Linked DNA regions of Homo sapiens: regions 1, 2, 4, 5, 6 and 7 are each linked to region 3. The links are contacts of gene promoters, found by promoter capture Hi-C in blood cells and fetal thymus (Javierre and others, 2016). All regions are on one chromosome and are shown on one strand. The core of a region is centred on a gene start or on the middle of the fragment in contact, and the rest is flanking DNA. Distances in the headings are between cores, read along the strand shown.

Region 1 (3,363 bases), core at 769-3,268, 870 kb before region 3:
GTTGAATCATAAATATTATTTAATTTCAATTAATTACATGTGGTTAGTAGCTACTATATTGGACAGCCCAGTTCTAAACCTTTCCTTCTTTACTCCAAATCTTCCCAACTTCAATGTCAGGCTTCAAAAGCCTTCAAAGGCTTTTAAAAATATTTTTCTGATTATCTTAGTTTCATTTCCTTTTATTCATTCCCACTGCTACATTAATTCATACCTGGACAATTGGAAATGATTCCTAGCCAGCACCTTTGTTCAAGCTCTGTCATAATAAATCTACCCAACACACAAGTGTATCAACAGCATTTCCAGCTTGGGAGCTTAAAATGATTTCTTCTAGCTAATCAAATAAAGACAAACTTCTGGACTTAACTATCCAGTCTTCCTCTTATTAGATCTCCTGTTCTAGCACAATGTCACCTCCCAACCTGCCACACAACTTTCAAATTCTCTCCTTATTGCTGCCAATCATGTTATGTTCATTCCTGCCCCTGTACCTTTGTTCCCAGTCATATGCCATTAGGATGCCTTCTCTCTTTTCTGCCTGTGTAAATTCTAAACTACTAGGAACTCCCATCTTAAGTCCTATTCCTTTTATCAACCCTTGCCTTATTAACCCAAACCACATTTTATCCTCTGAAATCCTGTAGTACTCATTTGTTATCTAGTAGTGGTGTCCTCTTACACATCACAGATCCTCAACAAGATAAAACCACACTCCTTGGCATCAGTGGAGGCATGCAGCTAGAATGCTGACCGGCTCTTACTTGATGGAAATATCTGCTCACAAAATGGCTGATCATACAATTCATCTTTGCTGAGCTTTAGAAGGCAGGAAAGACAAGGGTAAGACAGTTTGGTACAAGTTGAACAGGTTTTGATGGAGGCTTGTCAAGCTTGTCTAAACGATTAAACCATAAACCAGTAAATACAAGGCAAACAGTTATGCTGTATAACCTGTGAGCACTAGAGTGAACAGCATACTAACATGTAAATTGCCAGTAAAAAAAAAATCGCCTCCAAATGTAGTCTAACACTAGCAATACGACTTCAAATGCATGCTAGTATTAGCAGCATGGCCCCGCAAATAAATATCTAACAGAAGTACTCACAGCCTAAGAAGATAATCACACTGTATGGAAGCAGTCTAAATTAATTAACAAAAGTACAAAAATCTTAAAATGCAGTTCACAGCGCTCCTTCAAGAAACAGCTGTTTCCAGGTCTGGCAGGACTCGTACAAAATGAGCAAGATGGTCATCCTACGCCAGAAAGCAAGGAAGCAATCACAGACTGATGGGGTCTTGCCAAAACAACACAGAAGGCAACTTGAAGGAGTTCCCAAGGGCCAAAGATGGGGCAACTTGGACACAAGAAAGTAATGACTGGAATGGATTGAGACATATCAAATATAATTTTTAAAAAGACAAAAACGTGAGTTTATAATGATCCTTAAAACAACTCAATACTTATCTAAGGAAGTGGCCAGGTCATCAACTGATTATACTAAAAAAAAAATACCTGATTATACTAAAAAATGAGACTATTTTGGGATAACTAAGTCATCAAGGAAGAAGGGTTCTTCTTTATAGAAACAATTTAATTATATGAAGAAGAAATAACAGAATCAGGAAACTGCCATTCTGAATCTAGGCAATGATTCTCAATGGAAACTAAAACCAGGAGGTGAAAGGTCAATGAGAATTTTGTAATGGACAGATTACAGACTGAGGACACCTGCATCCACCGGTCAATCCGAACATCACCAGAAATGGGATAACCAGTGCCACCCAATATGAAGCACACAGCACCATCCATGAACTTTTGCCCCCCTCAAAGTGAATCCGAATCTAATAAAAAAAAGCCAGATCTAACTATCTACCAGTTAAATCACTAGCAGATAGTGGAACATGTTACAGAAGCAACAGGAATGCCAAGTCTAAAATATATGATTTTTCTACAAAACAAACAATCCAGGCTTCAACAAAGAGATGGCATAATATTAACTATTATAGATTAAAAGAGAGCTCAGAGTATTAACCAAATTCAGTTTGTGGGCCTTGTTTGGAACTTTTTTTTTTTTTTGGAAATCAAGTCTTGCTCTGTCACCCAGGCTAAAGTGCAGTGGCGCAATCTCGGCTCACTGCAACCTCCATCTCCTGGGTTCAAGCTATTCTTGTGCCTCAGCCTCCCGAATAGCTGGGATTACAGGTGTGTGCCACCACACCCGGCTAATTTTTGTATTTTTAGTAGAGGCGGGGTTTCACCATATTGCCCAGGCTGGTCTCAAACTCCTGGACTCAAGTGATCCACCCGCCTTGGCCTCCCAAATGCTGGTATTACAGGCGTGAGCCACCATGTCCAGCCTGGAAGTAATATTAAATAAACGAACTGTAAAATGCCATTTTTGTGAAAATTGAGGAAATCTGTAGATTGGGCATTAGACATTAGGTTTGCAAATGGTAACGTAACTGTGTTATACTGTGTTTTGTAATGCGTACTAGGGATGCATACTGAGTGATGTCATGTGTCAGAGGAAAAAGGGGGCAAGGACTAGAGGAACAAGAATGACAGAACATTCGTAACTGTTGAAGCTGGGTTTAGGGTAGGAACCGGTATGTTACATATTCCCTCTAGTTGTACGTATATTTTTCACAACAAAGGAGGTGGGCGGGGCTTCCGGTGGGCCCACCAGTTGCATTCTCCATGCTACTTCCTGGCTGGAAGTGTCTGCTCTGGCCAGCACAGGTGAGAGCTCTAAACTGTAAATTGTATCTCAAAAGTCTTTCTTGACATGCCATTTAACAACATTCATATCATGCCTCTGATTACTCTGAAGTGAAAAATGTCAGCAGAGTTAACTAATGTATTGATTTTAATAATCCTTGGTTTCTATGGAAAAGGAAATATGGGCTTTAAAAACACACAAAGGCACCTGAAAGCTGCTCTAAGATCACCACAATTTCACACTGCTCACTACATGTTTTTACATACAACTCTGAATTGATACAACACAAAATTAGATGCCAAAAGTTCTGTATCCCAAAATCTGAAGAAGTAACACAGATGGTTAGAAATAGAAAGAGGGAAACAGAACGCTGGCGTGCAACACAGGCACTGACTCACACTTTGTCTAAACAAGCTTGAACTTGGGGGAAGTGTTAAACCGCAGAGACGTGAATCAGACTGAGGCAAGCTATAAAGCCAGGAGGAGTAGAGCAAGCTGATTCACACCAACAGTCATGCCAGGAACATGCCTGCCCACCAACTTAATAGAACAGACCACCACCAATGTTGGGACAAACAGATGCACACCATACCCGGGGCTGGCACACAACTCTGGTGTGAAACAGCAGGAGGTTACCTT
Region 2 (3,127 bases), core at 501-3,000, 780 kb before region 3:
TATAGCATCTCCTATACCAGCAGTTTTCTTTCTTTTCCTTCCTTCCTTCCTTCCTTCCTTCCTTCCTTCCTTCCTTCCTTCCTTCCTTCCTTCTCTCCCTCCCTCCCTCCTCCCTCCCTCTCTCCCTCCCTCTCTCCCTCCCTTCCTTCCTTCCTTTCAGACAGAGTCTCACTCTGTCACCCAGGCTGGAGGGCAACCTCAGCTCACTGCAACCTCCACCTCCTGGGTTCAAGTGATTCTTGTGCCTCAGCCTCCTGAGTAGCTGGGATTACAGGCATGCACCACCGTGCCTGGCTAATTTTCATATATTTAGTAGAGATGGAGTTTCACCATGTTGGCCAGGCTGGTCTCAAACTCCTGGCCTCAAGTGATCTGCCCATCTTGGCCTCCCGAAGTGCTGGGATTACAAGCATGAGGCACTGTACCCGGCCCTGCCAGGGGTTTTCAACTGGGGACTGACATCACCTACCTGTGAAGTTTTATTAGTATGCAGATGTTTTGGACCTATTCCATATTTACAGAATCTCTTCACTTTATGTTCTTTATATATTCTTAATATATTCTAACAATATGTTTAGTATATTAGTGGTATATTATGTTGGTATTATTATATGTTATACCTAAAGATTTTTTCTCGGTAAAGATTATGTTCCTCTGTTTTTATAAATTGGAGATAGCATTCACTTTTCTTTGGAAGTAGGGTTACTCATTATGTTTGTAAATATTTCATCCAAAACAGTTTTTAGATTGATTTTCTTATTTTGGTTTGCATGCCACAGAAACAAACAACATCCCTGTCAGTTTTACTATTCTTGTTATAAACTCCCAGCAGATCTTTCACTTCTGAAAATTGTCAATAGTTAAGCACAGCCATTTTATTTTATTTTATTTTATATATATATTTTTGTGAGATGGAGTCTCACGCTGTCACCTAGGCTGGAGTGCAGTGGCACAATCTCGGCTCACTGCAACCTCTGCCTCCTGAGTACAAGCTATTCTCGTGCCTCAGCCTCCTTAGTAGCTGGGATTATAGGTATGCGCCATCATGCCCAGCTAATTTTTGTATTTTTAGTAGAAACGGGGTTTCACCATGTTGGCCAGGCTGGTCTCGAACTCCTGACCTTGTGATCTGCCCGCCTTGGCCTCCCAAGGTGTTGGGATTACAGGTGCGAGCCACTGCGCCCGGCCTAAGCACAGCCATTTTATTTTGTCATCTACTGATAGGGTTTTTTGTTTTACTCTGATGCTTCCCTGAAAGCCCTTGTAATCAGCTACAGACCACAGTGCTTCATCTTCAACAAAGAAGGACTGTCTCAGAGACATGCAGTAAAGGACTATGCGAGGGACTTTAAGTGCAAGCTTCTGGCGGCATCATTCAAACAGCTATGAGACCACATCAGTGGACTGAGTCAGGATTTCTAGAACTCTAGTTGAGACGCTGGTTAGTTCATGAGATGACCAACTCAAAATCCAGTGGAACAAGAATTTATTACCTAAGACTAAATGAACTGATAAGGAATGATGGTGGGTTTTGTTTGCAATGTTTTAGATGTGGTTTTAATGTTCCATTTTCTGCATATGAAGGAACCCCCTTCTCTTCTCTTAAGCTCTCTATGACTCGTAACAGTTTGGCAGACTTTGGTAACCAGAAACAAACCATTTTTAAATATCTTATTCTCCCTCCCTGACCTCTCCAAAATTCAGAAACTCTCATTAAGTATTCTTAATTTTATGGCAATATGATTATTTGCATAGGTTCAATGAGAATCTGCCTTCCTTATTAACAGGACATAATTGGAAATATTGATTATGCACCCAAAACTTTGCCTGAAATATCATGTTTGAGAATGATGCTCATTTAATCAGAAATCACCTGATACATTAAAGTAACTAGGATTGACTTTATGGAGCCAATGCTTGCCAGCCCTCTGACTTACAGAGTTGTCAGCCTTACACGTAAGTTAGGAAGGTCACTTCCTTGCAAGCCCGTGAACTGTAGGATATTGAGGGGTCCTTGAGAAGAGAGGAATTTGCTCATATTTATAGGTACCAGAAGTAATTTGGATGTCAAGTTCTTGGTGTGGCTTCCTAGTCTCAAGAGGCTTTCAAACGTCCAATCTGAGATACCTTATTAAAGCTTCCAGCAAAGCAAGTTTAAGGAGGCCTATCTGCTAAAGTACCATTCTTGCTGCTCCTGTGTAAATAGTGAGACTATACCTAATAAGGCCAGCCTTATTTTGTGATGATGAAAAATTTTTCTTTGAGATTATCTTTGTCAAAAGACAGGTGTCTAAAATGAGAAATTTTATGTTTCAATATGTAGCACACCCTTCTGGTTATCAGACTCCAGCCCTGTGCATTGCCTTTGAGTCTTCTTGGACCTCTTTACACACTGCAGGTAGCTGATGACTATGCAAACTCTGTCTTGTCTGATGAGATTTAATTGGCTGCCTTTCCCTACTCCTCATAGAAAAACCAGTTTGGGAACCTACCTTTAAATTTGATTAGATCCTGTTGCCTTGCCCAAATTGTCAATCCTTACCAGGTTTTCAATTTCTCCAGTTTTCTTCAATATCTGACTACAGTCCTCCAAACTAACTTTCACATTTTTTCTTCCTCAAGCCTGAATTGGCATCACCAAGAATTAACACCCGACTGCCCAAATCCCTGTCAGGACTGTGGGTTGCCTTGCAGCTGGCCTTTTCTCCCAGAATCTGAAGGAGTTCTACAAGCTGAGGCTTAGCGATTTGGCATAAACCTTGAAAGACTCAGCCCTTCAGGATACCATGAATTCTCCCTGGACAAGCTGCTGCCTGGACCACTAAGGAAGCCCAGCAAAATGCTCAGGCCATGTATGCCCTTTCGTGACAAGTGCCAAGATTGTGGACAATATCACAAGACATTGACAGCTTTAAGAAACTCAAAAACTGGTGCTGGAAGATTTTCTTCTGCTAACCTCTTGGAATTCACTGAACCAGCTAATTCTCAGATTCAACTACTGGCTTTTACTTTAATGTAACTTTTATATTATTATTTCGTTATTTTAGACATCCCTCTTTATATATATATATTTTTACTTTTTATTATTTTTTTTCGAGATGGAGTCTTGCTCTGTCGCCCAGGCTGG
Region 3 (3,453 bases), core at 701-3,200:
TCCTGGCCAACATGGTGAAACGAGGTCGCAGTGAGCCGAGATCGCGCCACTGCACTCCAGCCTGGCGACAGAGCGAGACTCCGTCTCAAAAAAAAAAAAAAAAAAAAAAAACAACACCAAAAAAAAAGTACAGAAAAGGATACCTTTCAGTATTTCATACATCACTAAATGTGCAAAACCCCCTAAGAACAGTTTAATTAAAAATTTGAGTCTGACCCTGGGCCCACTGCCTATGAATTAGCCCTGCTCCGCAAGGAGCAGTACTGTTTTAAAAAAAATTTTTTTTGGACAGGCTGATTTTACATTTGTAATATTTCTAAATCTTAAATTAAAAAATATATATTAACATTTATATTTTAAAAGATGCTTTCAAAAATATAAAAAAATTAACTCATTACCTATTTTGTTTAAGGGCTCCTGGAAAAACTGAGGGAATGATCAATATGCACACCAAAACAAATATATACAAACTTCTAAATTTCATTTTATAGGAATAGTATCTATTGAAAGGGCAGGGTGCATGAATAACTCAGTGACAGGCGTAAACTCAGCCAGGATTAGAAACGTCTTCCCAATGGAGGCCCCGCTCAAGTTGAGAATTTCATGGACACAGTAAATCATCCAAAAGCCCACCTTCAATAACCAAAGTAGGCATAAAAATAGGCCGATGGTTACTTTGGAGATAATATAATCCTCGGTCTTATTGTTGTGGAGCAGATGTCATTATGGGTGGGGCTGAAGCGCAGAGCAGCTGAAACATTTTTATACCACCACCCGCACACTTTCAATGGGATAGAAGGGACTCCAAAAGGTAAGAGCTCCCAATCGTCAGTTGCTACTAGAAATAACTAAGTTTTGATGTGGCCGTGGCACGCGTAAAGGCCACAAAGAGATTTATAAAATTCTCCATGATTAATTCCTATCCTGGAAAAGAGGCAATCTCCTTTTCCCCTCCCTAGCCGGCTCCTCCTTGGGACACTTGGCTGAGTCGTTCTTTCCCTCCTTCTCACGCTGAGGTGAGGCCGCACGCAAGCCGGAGACGCCCGTTTTCCTCTTCGCGCGGAGGAAACTCTACGGGTAAGAAGCCGGGGTGGCGGGAAAGGAGCACGCGGCACCGCGGGGAGGCAGAGAAGGCTTGCCAGGGACTAGCCGGGCTCGGGGAGAGCAGGGACACGCGGGCCGTCGGACCGAGGAGGCCGAGGTGACGAGGAAAATCTCCCGGCGCGGAGCCGGGACTGGGCGCTTCCGGCGGGCTACGGTTGCTCTTGGCCTAGCACAGCCTGCGTCCCGGGCCCCAACCGGGCCAGGTAGGGAGTTAGGAGAGAGGGTAAACCGCGGCTCGCACTTGCCTGAGACCGGGTGACCAGTAACTGGTAATAGTCTTTGCTAGGCGGCGGGCCTTGTCCTACAGTTTCAAAGAGAGTCTCCGGCAGCCACGACGCCATCTTGGGACGCCACCGCCGTCGCTAAGACAACCAGGAAGGGGCGGGGCTTGGTTGGGGTCAAGGGGCCAAAACCCTAGTTTAAATTGAACCACGCTTATGAGCTGGCAGAAGGATTTCTAACTTGGGGCGATCGTCCCCTCTTCCAAGGGTCTTAGGGAACCCTGATCCGTGAAATTTCCAGCTCCAGGTCCCGGGTGACCCGAGGGGGAATTAGTTCCTGCTACCACGGAGGGGAGGGGGTGACCCCGGCGGAGGGATACCAAGTAGATCTCCACAGTCCCCTTCCTGGTCCCTCGAAGGGATCGGGCGGAGATCGGAGGCTGCTGAGAGAGTCGAGCCGGGAGGCGTGGGAGGGAGGGGCGATGTGATGGGCCGCCAGTAGGCAGCGGTGCCGGTCCCGCGGACGAGCCCGTAACCGGAGCCCGAGGACAAAGTAGTTCCCCGAGGGTGTCAGAGCAGGCGGGGAGGGAGGCGGCACGGGCGGAGGCGCACGCCGGGCGCGGTGCTGCGGCTCAGCTGATAATTGAAGGAACCCGGAGCCGCCGCCGCCGCGCCGCTGGGGGGGGTGGGGGGAGCTAGTGGAAGTTACTGCCGCGCCACCGAGTCCGGACCGGAGACTTTGGGGCCTAACTAGGTAATTGGGGCGCAGCTCTGGGCGGCGGGGGCAAGCCTTGGGGGAGGGGGCCAGCTGAGGGGTTGGGGGGGCGGGGGGAGGAGCTGGAACAGAAAGTCCCAGGAAGCCCGGTTGTGTCATCGCCGCGATTCGGCCCCCGCTTGGCCTGCTCCCGGCGCCGGCGGCGGCGGGGCCGCGGAAGGACCGGGCCGGGGGTGGACGGGAGAGACGCTCGAGGGCGGCCGCGGCCGGAGGGACCGGGGCCTGGCGGGAGGTAGGGGTCGCTGGGTCCCTCCTCCGGCTTCCCGCAATGAGGAGGGCCCTTCACAGAACCGGGGTAAGGCTTGCGGGTGTTGGGGAGCTCGGCGGGGACCAAGGGGGGCCGGAAGTGGGCTTTGGAGCTTGGAGGGTGTCTGGGAAGAGAGAAAGTGGGGGGCCGGAAGTGCAGGTGGGGGGTGTGAAGACGGCAAGGGTTCCCCGGAAATGGGACGAGGGGCCCGGAAATCGGGAAAGGGGAGGCTCCGGGGCCGTGGACGGCCCGGAAATGGAAACTAGGAAGCAGCTCCAGTGACAACAGTTGTGGGAAGCGAGGGTCAGAGAAGGGAGAGGCCAGAGAGACTTTAGACCGCAGTAAGGGGTTTCCTGCCCAGGGGGACGGCGAGGGACGGTTGAGGGAGGGCGAGCCCGGAGACGGGGTCTGCGCGGGGCAGTTTTTTAAGCCGTGGGAAGTTGAGGCTGAGGGAGGATGATGACGAGGGGGGCATGCAGGGAGGCCTAAAGAAGCCGAGAAACTTGACTGAGAGGAATAGAGTATCCTTTTAAATAGATCAGAATGGAAATTGGTGGTAGGTGGGTTTAACTAGGACTTGGGGGAGGGAGGTGGGCCAATTGTCACCCCAATCGTATTAGCATTCAGAGCGAGTCAGGCGATTAATTTATTTATATGTGGATTACATAAAACCTATTATTTACAACGTTTGTCCATCAGTTCAGCCCCTCTCCTTCCTTCTCCATAGTGAGTGGGTTTCTAGTACAGGAACAAGTTAGAGGGGAGTTCGAATAACGAAGGTAGTAAAACCTCAAATCCTGTCTTCCTCGGCGTCTCTCCCTTCCTCAGAATAAGAAATCCTTCATTTCCTAGACGGAAAAATGCGGAAAAACATAAAAACACATGTAAATCGGGGGGAAATCACACTTTGAACTCCTGGTGGGGGACAGGAGGGAATTGGTTACCTTACGTGGTGAGGAGATAACGGAAGGGGCAGCTTCCAAACCCTTAAGACAAATGTTGTGTTTTTTTGATAATGCTGTTTTACTTTGGGGGAGGTTTAGCCTAAGCATCGAGTCTGGTGGTGGGCATAGTTTAATTGCTTCTTTAGTTAATTGGGGGAGGGA
Region 4 (3,133 bases), core at 267-2,766, 800 kb before region 3:
CGACTTCTAACTTCATACACGCCTCCCAAATCACTTGCCAGCTACATCACAAATATTATGAATATTAGTATATTAAACCTTAAAAAAGAATTATATGACAAAGAACATTTAATATATTTTGAATACAACCTTTGTAAATGTTAGTGAAAAGGTCCAAAAGAAGACATTACTGCATAAAGTATGATACTTAATTCAAGTAAACTGGACAAAGAATGAAGAAAACCAGGCTCCAGATTCAGTCCTGTGGCTAATAAGCCATAAAACCCTAGAAAAGAGACTTCACTTTGCAGAAAGCTACACCTGTTACTGCTCAAAGTGAACCAAACTCTGCTCTAGTTACGGTGGGCCTCAGTGTTCCCACCTGCAGAAAGAACCATTCTGCCTAGGTTGTTTCTGAAGTTCTAAAGTTTCTCCCCCCTGGAAAAGCCTATCATGAGCATCACAAAACTTATGTCTAGGCATCTGATACACGGCAGCACATCAGATGTAGCAACTCATTTAATCGTCCTACAACCCTCTCAGATATGGTCTACTATTACCATCCAAGGAATTCAAGCTAGACAGAAGGAACTTAAGGTTATAGAGCCCACAGCAGAGGAATGAGGGTTCAAAATCTAGGCAGTCTGGCTGCACCTGCGCTTTTAACCACTGGCTAACACTACCTCTCCAAATTCTATAAACCTAAAAGCGGGCCTTAACTACAGACATGTAAACAGAAACCTGTCCAAGTATTTCTTCCTAGTGCCTCAATACAGCTGATATATAATCTACTGTGGAGGGAGACAACAGTGACTAGCATGTTAATAGTCAGTACACTGTAAAGAGCAAGTTACAGTTCATGAGACAAGATCACAAAGTAGGAACTTAATTAAGATCAAGATACACAATGTATGTTTTGTTTCTCAAATGTATTACCAAATAAAGTGTGTGATCTTTTAACAGTATCATACTTCCGTGGTCCTCAACAATTTTTGCTGGATAATGCTCCCAAAGAATAATTACCATATAAAAACAAACTGCCACTAAATAATGGCTAGATTTTCCCCATCTTTGAAACATGCATATGAATACACACATAAACAAGCAAACACAATCTATAACTTAAACACTATATTCTGAGTACCAAGACAAAAGCTATTAAAGATCATACAAATAGGTATGCACTGGATATGGTCAACATGAAGGGCCAAGGCAGGATTTACCTCCCTCCTTTGGAGCCACTTCACACCCGAATGACCTCCCGCAATTCTCTGCATGCCATCCTGCCTTCCTCTGCAGGCTTAACATCACAGCTGCTATAAACCACAATTCTGCTGTCCCCTCACCCCTTCTGTTTTAAAAGTTAAAAGCACAGTGGGACTGGGAAGCTCAGTGAGACAGAAATGGCACAACACCCCCCAAAAATGCAGATGGCAACTAGCTGTTAACCTGATTTCATCACCACCAGTCTATGATCTGCCACCTAGGCCTGTAGTAACTCTTCTCATAATCCTCGGAGGGCCTGAGAAACAGAGGCAGAACACTGATCATTTTATTCACAGACTGTTCTACTCTACAAATGGTGACGGCAGAAGTATTTGCTTCACTTTGCTCTGCCCCCATATTCCGGACTGTAGAGATGAGGGGAGTTGAGTCCAGTCTCTCTTTCTCACTGCAAGACACCCTTGCAGGAGAATTTTTTAAAAAGTAGTGGTTGGGATCCGGTCGGAAAGTCACTAAGGGCACAGAACGTACGAACTCTCACACAGCTCAATTCCTTCTGTAATTAAAGAAGGCTCTAATACAAGTCTTCTTACAATGGCCAAAAGATACTGATGACTAAATTGCTATGCAAATTTAGATTACCTGACTTCATAATAATGCCAGATCTTTACACCTCAGTAATAACAAGTCACAAGTAATTTAACCCAGAGATTCAGATTTGATATTTTTTCCCCACAATTTTATCAAAGTGTGTAAAAAAAAATGTTTACCAGTTTTTCTGTTATCCAAATTAATCCACCTTCCACAGTCCCATTTCTGTAACATGTAAAGACGTTCATAAAATCAAATGCCCAATTAAAAGAAGCAATGAAAAAGAGGAAAATGAATTTTTATTTTTATTATTTTTATTTTATATATACATTTTTTGAGATGGGGTATCACTCTGTCACCTCAGGCTGCAATGCAGTGATCAAAATTCACTGAGGCTGCAAATTCCTGGGCTCAGGCAATCCCTCCTGCCTCAGCCTCTTGAGTAGCTAGGACAACAGGCACACACACCACCATGCCCGGCTAATTTTTTATTTTTGTGGATATAGGGTCTTGCTATGTTGCTCAGATCGGCCTCCAACTCTTGGGCTCAAGCAATCCTCCCACCTTGGCCTCCCAAAGCACTGGGATTATAGGAGTGAGCTACCCCGCTCGGCCTGACCTTTTAAAATAGGGCTGGAGGCCAGTGTGGTCAGGCCTATAATCCCAGTGCTTTGGGAGGCTGGGGCAGGAGGATGGCATAAGCCCAGGAGTTCAAGACCAGCCTGGGCAACAGAATGAGACACCATCTCTTTTAATTAAAACATTTTTTAAATTAAAAAATAAAATAGAGCTGGAATAGAAACAATGCCAGAAAGGTAAACAAAAGACAATACCTGAAACAAAATTCGTCCTACTACTGAATTTTATTTTTGGGGGTTGGGGAGGTTGGATTTGTGTATTTTCATGGCAGATGGCTAAACTGTGAGTGATTAGTCATCAATCTGGAAAAAAGGCTCTTGGGAAAGTATGGCAATAACTAAAGAAATCTGTAATCCCACAAAAGTTGATCAAAACAGAAAACTTTAGTAAATATTCCAAGGTAATAAAGACCCTGTGTGGCATACGTATTTGCAATATACAAACATTCAAATAAAATCAAGTTACCAAACCCCATACTTATACTGGACTTTCTTAGCAGTTCTTCTACATTAACTTTAGGAAACGTATACAGCCTTACTCAGCATCTTACTTCATACGTGATGAAACAGAAACAGAGATCTTATTAATACACCTTAGAATGTAAAATACATGGGAAAAAACTGACTTAGTACAAGAACCTGAAGTAGAAAATGCTAATGAAGGGAAGTAAGCTGCCTTGAAATAAAAAAACAGATATCCA
Region 5 (3,182 bases), core at 622-3,121, 950 kb before region 3:
GCCTGTCCTGCACCCTCACACTCAAGTCTGCCCGCAAGGGAGCCTGCTGGGTGGGTGTGGGAGGTCAAACCACTGCCCGCACTGCCTGGCCCATGAGGAGGCCGGGGCCTCTCCCCACCTTGCCCTGCTTTAGGGGTCCCGTGATCATATGGACCACCTGCCCACTGTCATCTCCTCAGCAGCCAGGGGCACTAACCAAGGTCACCAGCAAGTGACGGGCATGGCCACAGTGCACAGGGCCCTCAGGAACAGCTGCTGGCCACAGGGGGTTGGGACTAAATGGCTTTGGTTTTCCAATGGACTCCCGGGAGCAGCAAGAGACGGGGGTGACACCTTCCGTTGGCATCTCCCAGGGATCGAACCACCCAGGAGCTCTTGCAAACCAGGCACCAGGGATGCCCTCCTGCCCCTCTGGCGCTCCTGAGCAGGTCTTAAGGAAAGGTGGCTGACCCTGACACAGGCCAGGCTGCCTACAGCAGCTGGGAAATCTGCCCTCGGGACACAACAAACACCAGGGCTCAGATTGTATTTAGGGGTCAAGTGGGGCTACAGGCCCAGCGGGGCCCTGCAACCTCCCCCTTCTCGGGTCTCCCATGCAAAATGTGGACAGACTCTGCGTGACAGGGGTTTTGCTGGGATTAAACGAGACAAAGAACCTAAAAGCCCTTTGTAAAGGATCAAGTGCTAGATAAAAATAGCAGATCTTTATCAGCCGAGCCTTTCCTTTTTAGGGCTGACTCTGTGGACAGCTGTTGAGGCTGCATTGTGGCCAGACTTTTGCTTCTGCATTCTGGAAAACCAGGGAAACTAGCTTGTGAGATTGCTAACAACCAGAAAGACAGAAAAGGGAAAAAAAAAAAAGTCAAAGCGCTACGTGGGAGAGCCCGAGGGCCTGCTCCACAAATCAAATTCACCGACAAGGTGAGGCCTGCTAGCTTTATGGCAAAGGGCAGCCTCGCCTTTCCGCCTTTCCGCCTTAATGCTGGTCTGCAGAACTTGAGCTGGGTCCCGTGTCTCCCTGTCCTGGGGGAGGGGCTGGGCTCGGAGGCCCCACCGAGGGAGGTTAGAGAAGACAGAGCAGGGAGAAGGTGAGGCTTCCACGGCCCCAGCTGAAGAGCAGCAGTGGCAGGTGTGGCAGAGAAGGGCAGGGGTTCCTGCCAAGACCCCTCACTGTGAAGGCTGGGGATCCCCCACCTTACCTAGACTGCGGGTGGGCACTTCTCTCTCATGGCCCTGCTGATGTCCCCCAGCACACACCCGGGCTCAGCCACGCTGCCACCCTCCCAGCTCCGCTCCAGCCTGCAGAGCCAAACCCTCAGAGGCACCATTATGAGCAGAAGTGCAGAAGGCAGCATTACAGGCTACCAGAAAGTAGACAGGAAAGCGCAGATGTCCCTGCTTGGAGGCGAAGGCATTTCCTCCATAAAGCCCCACACAGAGGCAGAACTCCTAAATCCCGCCCCAGCGCTGCCTCTGCCTACTGTGCCCAATCAACACCAAGGCTCAAACACCAAAGCCCTGGAACCCTCACTGTCCCTTTGGCCCTCAAAGCAGCCTGTGATCTCGGGGTATTTACACCTGTCTGGGGACAGTGGGGCATCAGGGAGCCTGGGCTCAACCCAGAGCCCTGGCCCCTTGGGATCCCTGGTGCCCAGCTCACTAGAAAGATGGCCGAATGGCCCACCTTCCTGAGACCCCAGCCGCACCACCTATCATGCTGGGGACCCAGAAAAATGTTGCTCCCCATAGGAAGCAGTTACTGACAGTGAGGTATCTGAGGAGGGGGGCTCCCATTTAGATAGTAGAAAAATATTGCATATTGTTTCCAAGGCAACAGAGCTCTCTGAGCGAAGGGCGCATGAGCCGGAAGTCCAGGGACCCGAGAGAGGCCTGGGCCTCTCCCTGCAGGCTTAAACTGAGACCCACAGGGGCACTCATTAAATGATTTACCAAAGCCAGGGCCAAAATGGTCAGGGGGAAACCAGCCAACTGTAGCATTAACTCGGCAGACCCCCACAGCTGGAAGGGAGCGCTCCCGGGCCCCATCCCCCAGTAACAATGTCCAAATTAACTGCAAGCCGATTTAACGATGATTGCAGATTGCAGCCTGCCTGGAGGGGTTCGGCAGCCAGAAACGCACTCCTGAGGCCCAGGCTGAGAACAGGGAAGATGGGGGTTGGGGAGGCAGTCTCATCTCACCTCCCCCACATCTCTCCTGGTCCTCAGCAGCTTTCTTTCCCAGGCTCCAGACCACAGAGGCCAGGGCACCCACCGAGTGTGTGTGTCTTGTATGTGTTCAAGACAGAGCCTAGCTGGGGGAGAGGAGAGTGGGCAAACACTGTCCACCTGAGCACACAGAGCCCAGTGGTCCAGAGGCACAGATGCCATCTGCCAACAGGGTCAGGGGTCCCCATCACTCTCCTGTCCTCCCTTCCAGACTGCAGGCCCCACGGGCAGCATCTGTGCAGATGCGCTCTCGGCTTGGCTGGGCCAGGCGAATTCCCTCTTCTCTTCCATCCCTGATAGTCAAGGCATCTCCAGACAACAAAAGCTCACTGCTGGAAGAGCCCTCATGGGGAGAGGGAACTTGGAGAGAGTGGGGCGGTGGACAGAGGGGCTGGCCAGGTTGTGCCTCTGTGATTTCACCATAAACATTTTTTCTCCACACTAAGAGAAACTCATCCTCACTGGCAATCTGCTGACGGTCTTGAAACATGCAAGGACTGCTGAGAGAAGAGAGCAGAAATGAGGGAATGGAGAGAGAAGCGGCAGGAAAGCAGAGAAGCCACCGTGGGGCCTGCCGGGGCGCCAAATCCCAGGAATGGACGACAGCCATGAAAGTCCCCACGCTGCCACAGGGAAGGACCTGGATGGAGCAGGGCCGCTGCTCCACAAAGTGCTTTCGGGCCAGGCCCTCTTGGCCAGTGGGCATCAGGACACTGGGGTAGGGCTAAGCTGGCCAGATTTGCCCTCCTGGCTGGCACGGGACCCTCCCCCAACCGCTCCAGGAGACCCAGCTCCTCCTGCCGAGGGCCTGAGACCAGGACACACTAGGAAACTGAAATCTGATCCCCAGGTATGCAGGCTGGGGAGGGGGTGACACAGGACCATTAATCAAAGGCAAATGCCAAGGAGAAAATTACAGAGGTAAGAAGATGATTGTATTTAACTTGTTTTTCTCC
Region 6 (3,078 bases), core at 413-2,912, 850 kb before region 3:
AGACTCCATCTCGGGGGGGGAAGAAAAAAAGTGGATGAAGTGAGACAGAGCACCTGGAACCATGACCTACTTGTTTCTCCAGAGCAATGAACTAGTGACACTCACAACCACTTGTGTGGATCTCATGGGAATGATGCTGAGTGGAAGAAAGCCCATCTCAAAAGTTTACACACTATATGATTCTATTTATTTAACATTCTTGAAGTAATAAAATGTATAGACTTGGAGAACAGATAAGTGTGATGCAATTGCATAGAGCTATATGCATATCCACACAAACTGTAAAACTGGTGAAATCTGAACAAGCCCTGTGGATTATACCAATGTCAATGCTCTGGTTTTGATATTGTATATAGTTATGTGAGAGGTTACCACTGGGGATATGGGTGAAAGGTACATGGGTTCTCCTGTACTCATTTCAGCAACTTCCTGTGAATTAATTAATTTCAAAATAAACAAAACAAAGTAAGGCAACATAAGACTTCTATAGCGTAAGACCTCTTGCACTCCCCCTCAGTATACCCTTAGGTTGTCTATAAGGCCCTTTTCATTCTACCAAAGCTTGTTTCTCTAGTCTTACTTCCTACCATTCCTCTTTATCTCCACCTCTTAAAGTCACACTGAACTTGTCACTGTTTTCTGAACATGCCATAGGTTGTTTCAAATTCTGTTCCCTTTCACACTTTGCCTGCCAAAAACCTTAAAAATCAGCTTAAACGTCACTTCAAACCTGTCATCTCTGTATCTGTCTCTGACAGACGTAGGAACTGCTTTATCCTCTTGGTTCCCACAGAATTTTATCTGCGCCCCCAAGTCCCTCTATATTATATTATTTACATGTGTATCTCCTCTACTGGATTATATACTTTTTTAAGAACGGGGACAAGGTTTGACTCCTATGCCTATCTGCCCACACAGAGAGGCACTAAAATGTCTGTGGATTCAATCAAACTGGGGATCTCTTGCAAGAGATAATGATGCAAGTAAAGACAGTAGACAACAACAAAGGCAACCATGCATGAGGAAAACGTTAACTCCAATGCGCACCACTGTTAAGTCATCTTTTTAGAAATAATTTTGAAGGGATCTATTTAGCAAAATTTTCCATACCTGTGTTCATTAGTTTACATAACTGAATTGATTCTAACTTACATATAACTAGTTATTGTTAAGAAATGCCTCAAAGAGGCCAGGTGTGGTGGTTCATGCCTGTAATCCCAGCACTTTGGGAGGCCACAGTGGGAGGATCACCAGGTCAGGAGATCAAGACCATCCTGGTCAACATGGGGAAACCATGTCTCTACTAAAAACACAAAAATTAGCTGGGCATGGCAACGCATGCCTGTAATCCCAGCAACTCAGGAGGCTGAGGCAGGAGAACCAGTTGAACCCGGGAGGCGGAGGTTGCGGTGAGCCGAGATCACACCACTACACTCCAGCCTCGCAACAGAGCTAGAGTCTGTTTCAAAAAAAAAAAAAGAAAAAAGAAAAAAAGAAATGCCTTAAAGAGCTCAGATTTGGGGGGAATGATGAGGCTTAAATTATTATTTTTTGTTTTTTTTGAGTTTCTTTAAACCCAATCTTTAACAAAAGAATCATTTTAAACAAGAGTCCTCTAAATATTTACCCATTTATATTTACTGCCTGAAATATCAATTCATTCTACAAGAAGAGATTAAATGACCTTGTTGAAAAAAGAAAGTTCTATATCAAAGTAAATGAAGACCAAGATGTGAAATGGAATCTAAAAGTGAACTGACAGATACTGTTGGTGCCAAGTATTTGATAATAAGAACAATTCTATTATCACATTAATTCCAGTGATAAATGCTTTCTACCTCCCCCAACCCCCACCTCTTTACTAAAGAAAATGTCTGCATAGTCTAAGCTGAATGATCATGGACTAAGGAAAGTCTATTAATAACCTTCTGGTGTCCAAGATTACTGTAAACAAGTTTAGTAACCATGAGTCACTGTTAAATGGCCATGCTATGAAGAGGCTACTCCCTTTCCCCCCTCTTAAAATATGTCAGCAAACTTACTCCTCTCATGAAATGAGTGAATATAGCTATTCAACCCTGTGAACACAAGCATTCATCGTAAGGAAGGGAACCACCTATAAGCTGAGCAAGGCAGCCATACCTCCTTTATACAGCATGTGGTGGGCGAAGAGTGCGTAAATAGTCCCCACATACACCACATCTGTTTGGTTGTTGGCAGTGAAAGACTAAGTCCCACCCCACCCCTGCCCCTAGTTACCTAAAAATAAGGATGGTAACATTAACCGCTTTTTTAAAATGTAAGAAAATTAGTTTTGTATGAATTCTTTTAAAAGAATTAGTCTCCTAAGAGACTAATCTATTTGTATCATACACAATTCTTAATGTGGTAACTATGTACCATATAAAACAAATACAAATACCAACATATAACAAATAAAGGAATAAACACTCAAATGTTATATTTATCATTTTGTCTGTGAGATCACAAGAAATGGATGGAAAAAGCCCAGGGACATAATGAATAAAGTGGAAAAAGGCATAATTTTACCATGGATTTGGCAGAGCTAGGTGTGAATTCCGTCTTTGACTCTAATATAATGAGTCAAAGTAATAAGCCTAGTAAATAACAGCTTTCTTCATCTGGATCACGGGAAACCAGAATCAATTCTATCTCAAAATAAGATGGGGGACTCTATACAAAGGCACCTTGCAAAGTATGGTGGTATATCGATGTAAGGATATGTCAACAGTGCAAAGCTTGAATTCCTTCTAGAATACTTAACTAAGTGGTCACCTAGTCCATGTCAATACCTCTTCAGAAACAGAAAACTTGCTGTCTTCTGAAAAAGTCAGCTTCCACTTACTGTTTTTCCTAATATCAAGACAAAATTGGACTTCTTGTTTTATTTCCACTCATGGGTCTGAATTCTACCTCCTGCCACGATCAGTTCGAATCCTTTTGTTACATTATATGGTCTCCCAAATACATTTTACTAAGAGCAAATCCGCCCTACAACATTACTCTGCTCAAATCTTCTCCCTAGGCTGTACCTCACATCTTGAGGTCATTCAACTG
Region 7 (3,359 bases), core at 350-2,849, 890 kb before region 3:
GGTCTCCTGAAGATAATCCAGTGTTTTCTTACTGACCCCTCACCATCACTAATTATACCAATTAATGCTAAAAAAACATCTGTTTACTTCAAGGGTTTACTAATTTCTGGAGAGTTGGTTATATCATATAAACTCATAACTTTTAAACTGTCACGGCTTACTCTTTCCTAAAACCAGCAGTCACTTCTTCAGGTTGTCAACATGCCAACAACCTGGCCAAGGCTGAGTGTGCAGAGCCGGCAGTGGGGCAGGTGCCAAGCTGCGGTCCTTGTGGGCGGTGGCAGAGCTGTGGAGAGCTTGGTCCCTGGTGCCAGCCTGCCTGGGTTCCAATCCTGGCTCCCTACTTCTTGTGAGCTCTGTAATCTTGAGCACGTTACTGAACTCCTCTGTGTCTCGGTTCCATCATCTGTATAATGGAACAGTGCCTCTCTCTCAGGAGAGTGCAGTGAGAAACGAGCATCAGTGTGCAAAGCACGTATCAGGCCTGTATCTGCAGAGATGTGAGTGAGTGAGGGCTAAGGGAAGAAAAGGCGCAAATAGCGGCTCTGTGGCTTTGCTTTAATTGCTTTTGTTGCTTCCTTTCTGGGTTTCTGGCTATGTTCTAGATACTTGAAGTTTCCAGGTAACTGATCTCTGGATAAGTAACTTGTCATCATATTAAATAAAAAATGAGCTGATGTACAAGAAAACAAATCTATTTTACTTAGGCTTTATAAGGAACTCATAGGAAAAACTGAAAGGAGTAGGCTTCATATCAATGTGAATCACAAAATCTATTCTTACGGTGAGAAGCAACCAGTATCTTACAAAGACTGAAAAGTTAGTATTATGTGATTTATAGCTTTCGTGTTCTTTTTCTATCACAGAAACCAAAGAAAATCTGAAGGAAGATGACTTCAAATATGTAATTCTTTTTTTATTTTTTGAGATAGTCTCACTCTGTCACAAAGGCTGGAGTGCAGTGGCACAATCTTGGCTCACTGCAACCTCCACCTCCCGAGCTCAAGTGATTCTCATGCCTCAGCCTCCCAAGTAGCTGGGACTACAGGCTTGTGCCACCACACCTGGCTAATTAATTTTTGGGGCTAGAGACAGGGTTTCACCATGTTGGCCAGGCTGGTCTTGAACTCCTGACCTCCATCCATCCACCCACCTTGGCCTCCCAAAGTGCTGGGATTACAGGCGTGAGCCACCATACTCAGCCCAAACATGTAATACTTTACTAAAAAACTTGGGAGTCTTGCATAGGGAATATAAATTTGCTGGCGACATAAATATGGGAATAAATAAATGCCAATGTGGCTACGAAAAAGAGAGTACAAATTAAAATCCATCTTTAAAGTACGGCTGGTGCTGAAGCCGCTCCATGTGTTCATGGGGCACTCACAGGCCCACCGCTAACATAAACTGCAGGAGCCAGCAACTTGCTTTATATCCATTCCTAAGGGCTTGGAAATGGTGGTCTCAGCCTTTCTTTTCATGTTGGTAATTCTGAATGGCAGAAGGGTCTTGAAGGCCTTTCTCCTTATCCAAACAGCCCAAGAATCCAACATTTGGTCAAAGTTTATGGATTTGCCAATAACCTCCACCCTGCACCCCCGGCCCCAGCTTCCTCCCACAATGGCCCTAGAAGCTACTAACCTAGGCTATCCTGTCTGGCCTTTGTGGCCTTAGAAGATACTGACTCCAGTGAACTGTGTGCATCTGTATAACTGCTGGCAAGAGTAGTATACCTCAGCCCTTTGAGGATCACAGAGCAGGAGAGGCCCCAGGAACCTCCACTCTCTCACACACTGATGTCCAGGGAGGAGAAACTCCTCCCACAGCTGCCAGGAAGTTCTGTCCAACCCCCCAAAGATGAAAGGACAGCAAATGATCCTCTAAGCCAGGGAAGGTGGGGCCCAAGCAACAGCAATGAATGGAAAGCAAGGGGCCTGGCTGGACTGTGCCTGTTCCCCAGCTGTGGCTGTCACGGATGCCCTGCTGCAGGAATTACAGCCTTACACGGAAAAAAGGCATATGCTGTTCTGAAAGAAAGTGCTGATTGAAAATGTGGACGGTGGAGTGTTCCTATCAAAGGACACAAAGTATTCCAGATGCTCCTAGTGTCCTTTAGTCTTTTCCACAGAAAGATAAGGTCTTCAAGGGAGATTTCCCCACGGTAGGAAGGGGATGAGTGGATGGAATCTTGGTCATTATCGGTCCAGACACCCATGAGGGGAAGAACTCTGGGCAGAGTCAAATTTTAAATGGACCTGGCAAAAAACTGAATGGAATTATGATTTTCCCCTCAAATCCTTTGTGATTTCATCTATATCTCCTGTTGGGACTGCTTACTGACAGAGTGGAGGGTATGCACTTCTTAACTGCTATAAGAACTTTCTACAGCAGGGGTCAGCAAACTATCAAGGGCCAAACAGTAAATATTTTAGACTTTGCAGAACATAGGGTCTCTGAGGCATCTACTTAATTCTGCTGCTGGAGCTCAAAACAGCCACAGACAATATGTAAATAAATGAGCACGTCTTTATTCCAGTAAAACTTTACTTACAAACACAGGCAGCTGGCTGGATTTAGCCCATGGGTTGTAGTTTGCCAACCCTTGTTCTACAGTTTAAATCTTAAATTTAACATTCTAACTTGCAAAGGATATCCTGCTTTGATACAAAGCAGCCAAGCCTGTCTACGGTCCACAGCCTCACACGCACATCGCCTCCCTCCACCCTCACACACCTGCCTGTGCCACCCAGGCCACAGCCCAGGAGCACAGCACCTGGAGTGCCTTCATCTAGCTGATATGACTATGGCTCAAAATCGCAAAGAATGCACTGCTAGGAGATGAAGTCTTCTTCAAACTCCCGTTCATTCCCTTTCTGTGTCTCCACCTTACTAGGAAGCAGGAAAGTGCTCCACATGGATCACTGTCCAACTCCATTCCTTTCCGCAAAAATCTTGACCCTCGGCAAAGGTATTTATTTCCCCCAAAGGTCTATGACCCATCCTGCACATCTCCCTTTCCCCAAATCCACATTTCAAACACAAGGTACAGAGAAATAAGCTATACAAAATGGTCTGTCATACCTTCAGTGACTGTCTTTTTGTCACATAATTTTCTGAATGAAGTAACTTCTCATATTCACTGAAAAACTAAAAGATAAGAGAACATAAATCAGGGTTATTGCCAAAAAAAAAAAAAAAAAAAAAAAAAAAAAAAAAAGACTGGTAGGTAACATTGTAAATTAGCTTAAGGACACATTTCTCACACCATGAAGGCCAACAGCTGCCCTGGCTCCCCTGCCACTCTCTTTCATGTCTTCCTCTGACATGTTTGCTCTGAGACTCTCAGGTGATCCCACCAA

The links. The method cuts DNA at HindIII sites, captures the fragments that hold promoters and counts their contacts. A CHiCAGO score of 5 or more calls a contact.
Region 1: a fragment that was not itself captured here is called in contact with the fragment with the promoter of TRIP12 in region 3 in 9 of 17 cell types (total CD4 T cells, fetal thymus, naive CD8 T cells and 6 more); the score reaches 10.6 in total CD4 T cells.
Region 2: a fragment that was not itself captured here is called in contact with the fragment with the promoter of TRIP12 in region 3 in 1 of 17 cell types (neutrophils); the score reaches 5.4 in neutrophils.
Region 4: a contact is called between a fragment that was not itself captured here and the fragment with the promoter of TRIP12 in region 3, in 8 of 17 cell types (neutrophils, fetal thymus, naive B cells and 5 more). The highest score is 10.7, in neutrophils.
Region 5: a fragment that was not itself captured here is called in contact with the fragment with the promoter of TRIP12 in region 3 in 1 of 17 cell types (naive B cells); the score reaches 6.0 in naive B cells.
Region 6: a fragment that was not itself captured here is called in contact with the fragment with the promoter of TRIP12 in region 3 in 2 of 17 cell types (total CD4 T cells and fetal thymus); the score reaches 5.5 in total CD4 T cells.
Region 7: a contact is called between a fragment that was not itself captured here and the fragment with the promoter of TRIP12 in region 3, in 1 of 17 cell types (neutrophils). The highest score is 6.5, in neutrophils.

What each region holds. Positions count from the first base shown.
Region 1 is chr2:230,793,995-230,797,357 of GRCh38, reverse strand. All of the region lies in intron 4 of CAB39 (calcium binding protein 39), which reads right to left. Among named protein-coding and RNA genes, the nearest start is that of ITM2C, 69 kb to the left of the region's middle. RefSeq lists an enhancer at 2,883-3,363. The HindIII fragment of the contact is 2,245 bases long and covers 896-3,140 here.
Region 2 is chr2:230,696,191-230,699,317 of GRCh38, reverse strand. It overlaps LOC124907996 (formin-like protein 16), which reads left to right. Exons shown (of 4, transcript XM_047446832.1): 2 at 2,623-3,015. LINC01907 (long intergenic non-protein coding RNA 1907) reads left to right here. Exons shown (of 4, transcript NR_040038.1): 2 at 2,623-3,015. Among named protein-coding and RNA genes, the nearest start is that of LINC01907, 2.8 kb to the left of the region's middle. The HindIII fragment of the contact is 778 bases long and covers 1,362-2,139 here.
Region 3 is chr2:229,920,506-229,923,958 of GRCh38, reverse strand. TRIP12 (thyroid hormone receptor interactor 12) reads left to right here and starts at 1,950. Exons shown (of 42, transcript NM_001348323.3): 1 at 1,950-2,079. It overlaps FBXO36 (F-box protein 36), which reads right to left and starts at 1,456. Exons shown (of 4, transcript NM_174899.5): 1 at 1,350-1,456. The coding sequence starts at 1,445. RefSeq lists enhancers at 1,178-1,237, 1,894-2,394, 2,395-2,895 and a silencer at 2,068-2,457. The HindIII fragment of the contact is 9,663 bases long and covers 1-3,453 here.
Region 4 is chr2:230,715,996-230,719,128 of GRCh38, reverse strand. All of the region lies in intron 1 of CAB39 (calcium binding protein 39), which reads right to left. Among named protein-coding and RNA genes, the nearest start is that of CAB39, 4.7 kb to the right of the region's middle. The HindIII fragment of the contact is 4,922 bases long and covers 1-3,133 here.
Region 5 is chr2:230,868,548-230,871,729 of GRCh38, reverse strand. The region is part of intron 1 of ITM2C (integral membrane protein 2C); the gene reads right to left. Among named protein-coding and RNA genes, the nearest start is that of ITM2C, 5.2 kb to the right of the region's middle. RefSeq lists enhancers at 865-1,522, 1,523-2,180. The HindIII fragment of the contact is 4,603 bases long and covers 1-3,182 here.
Region 6 is chr2:230,773,643-230,776,720 of GRCh38, reverse strand. All of the region lies in intron 2 of CAB39 (calcium binding protein 39), which reads right to left. Among named protein-coding and RNA genes, the nearest start is that of CAB39, 62 kb to the right of the region's middle. RefSeq lists an enhancer at 1,833-2,127. The HindIII fragment of the contact is 2,198 bases long and covers 564-2,761 here.
Region 7 is chr2:230,813,837-230,817,195 of GRCh38, reverse strand. CAB39 (calcium binding protein 39) reads right to left here. Exons shown (of 9, transcript NM_016289.4): 7 at 3,082-3,147. Among named protein-coding and RNA genes, the nearest start is that of ITM2C, 49 kb to the left of the region's middle. The HindIII fragment of the contact is 6,201 bases long and covers 1-3,359 here.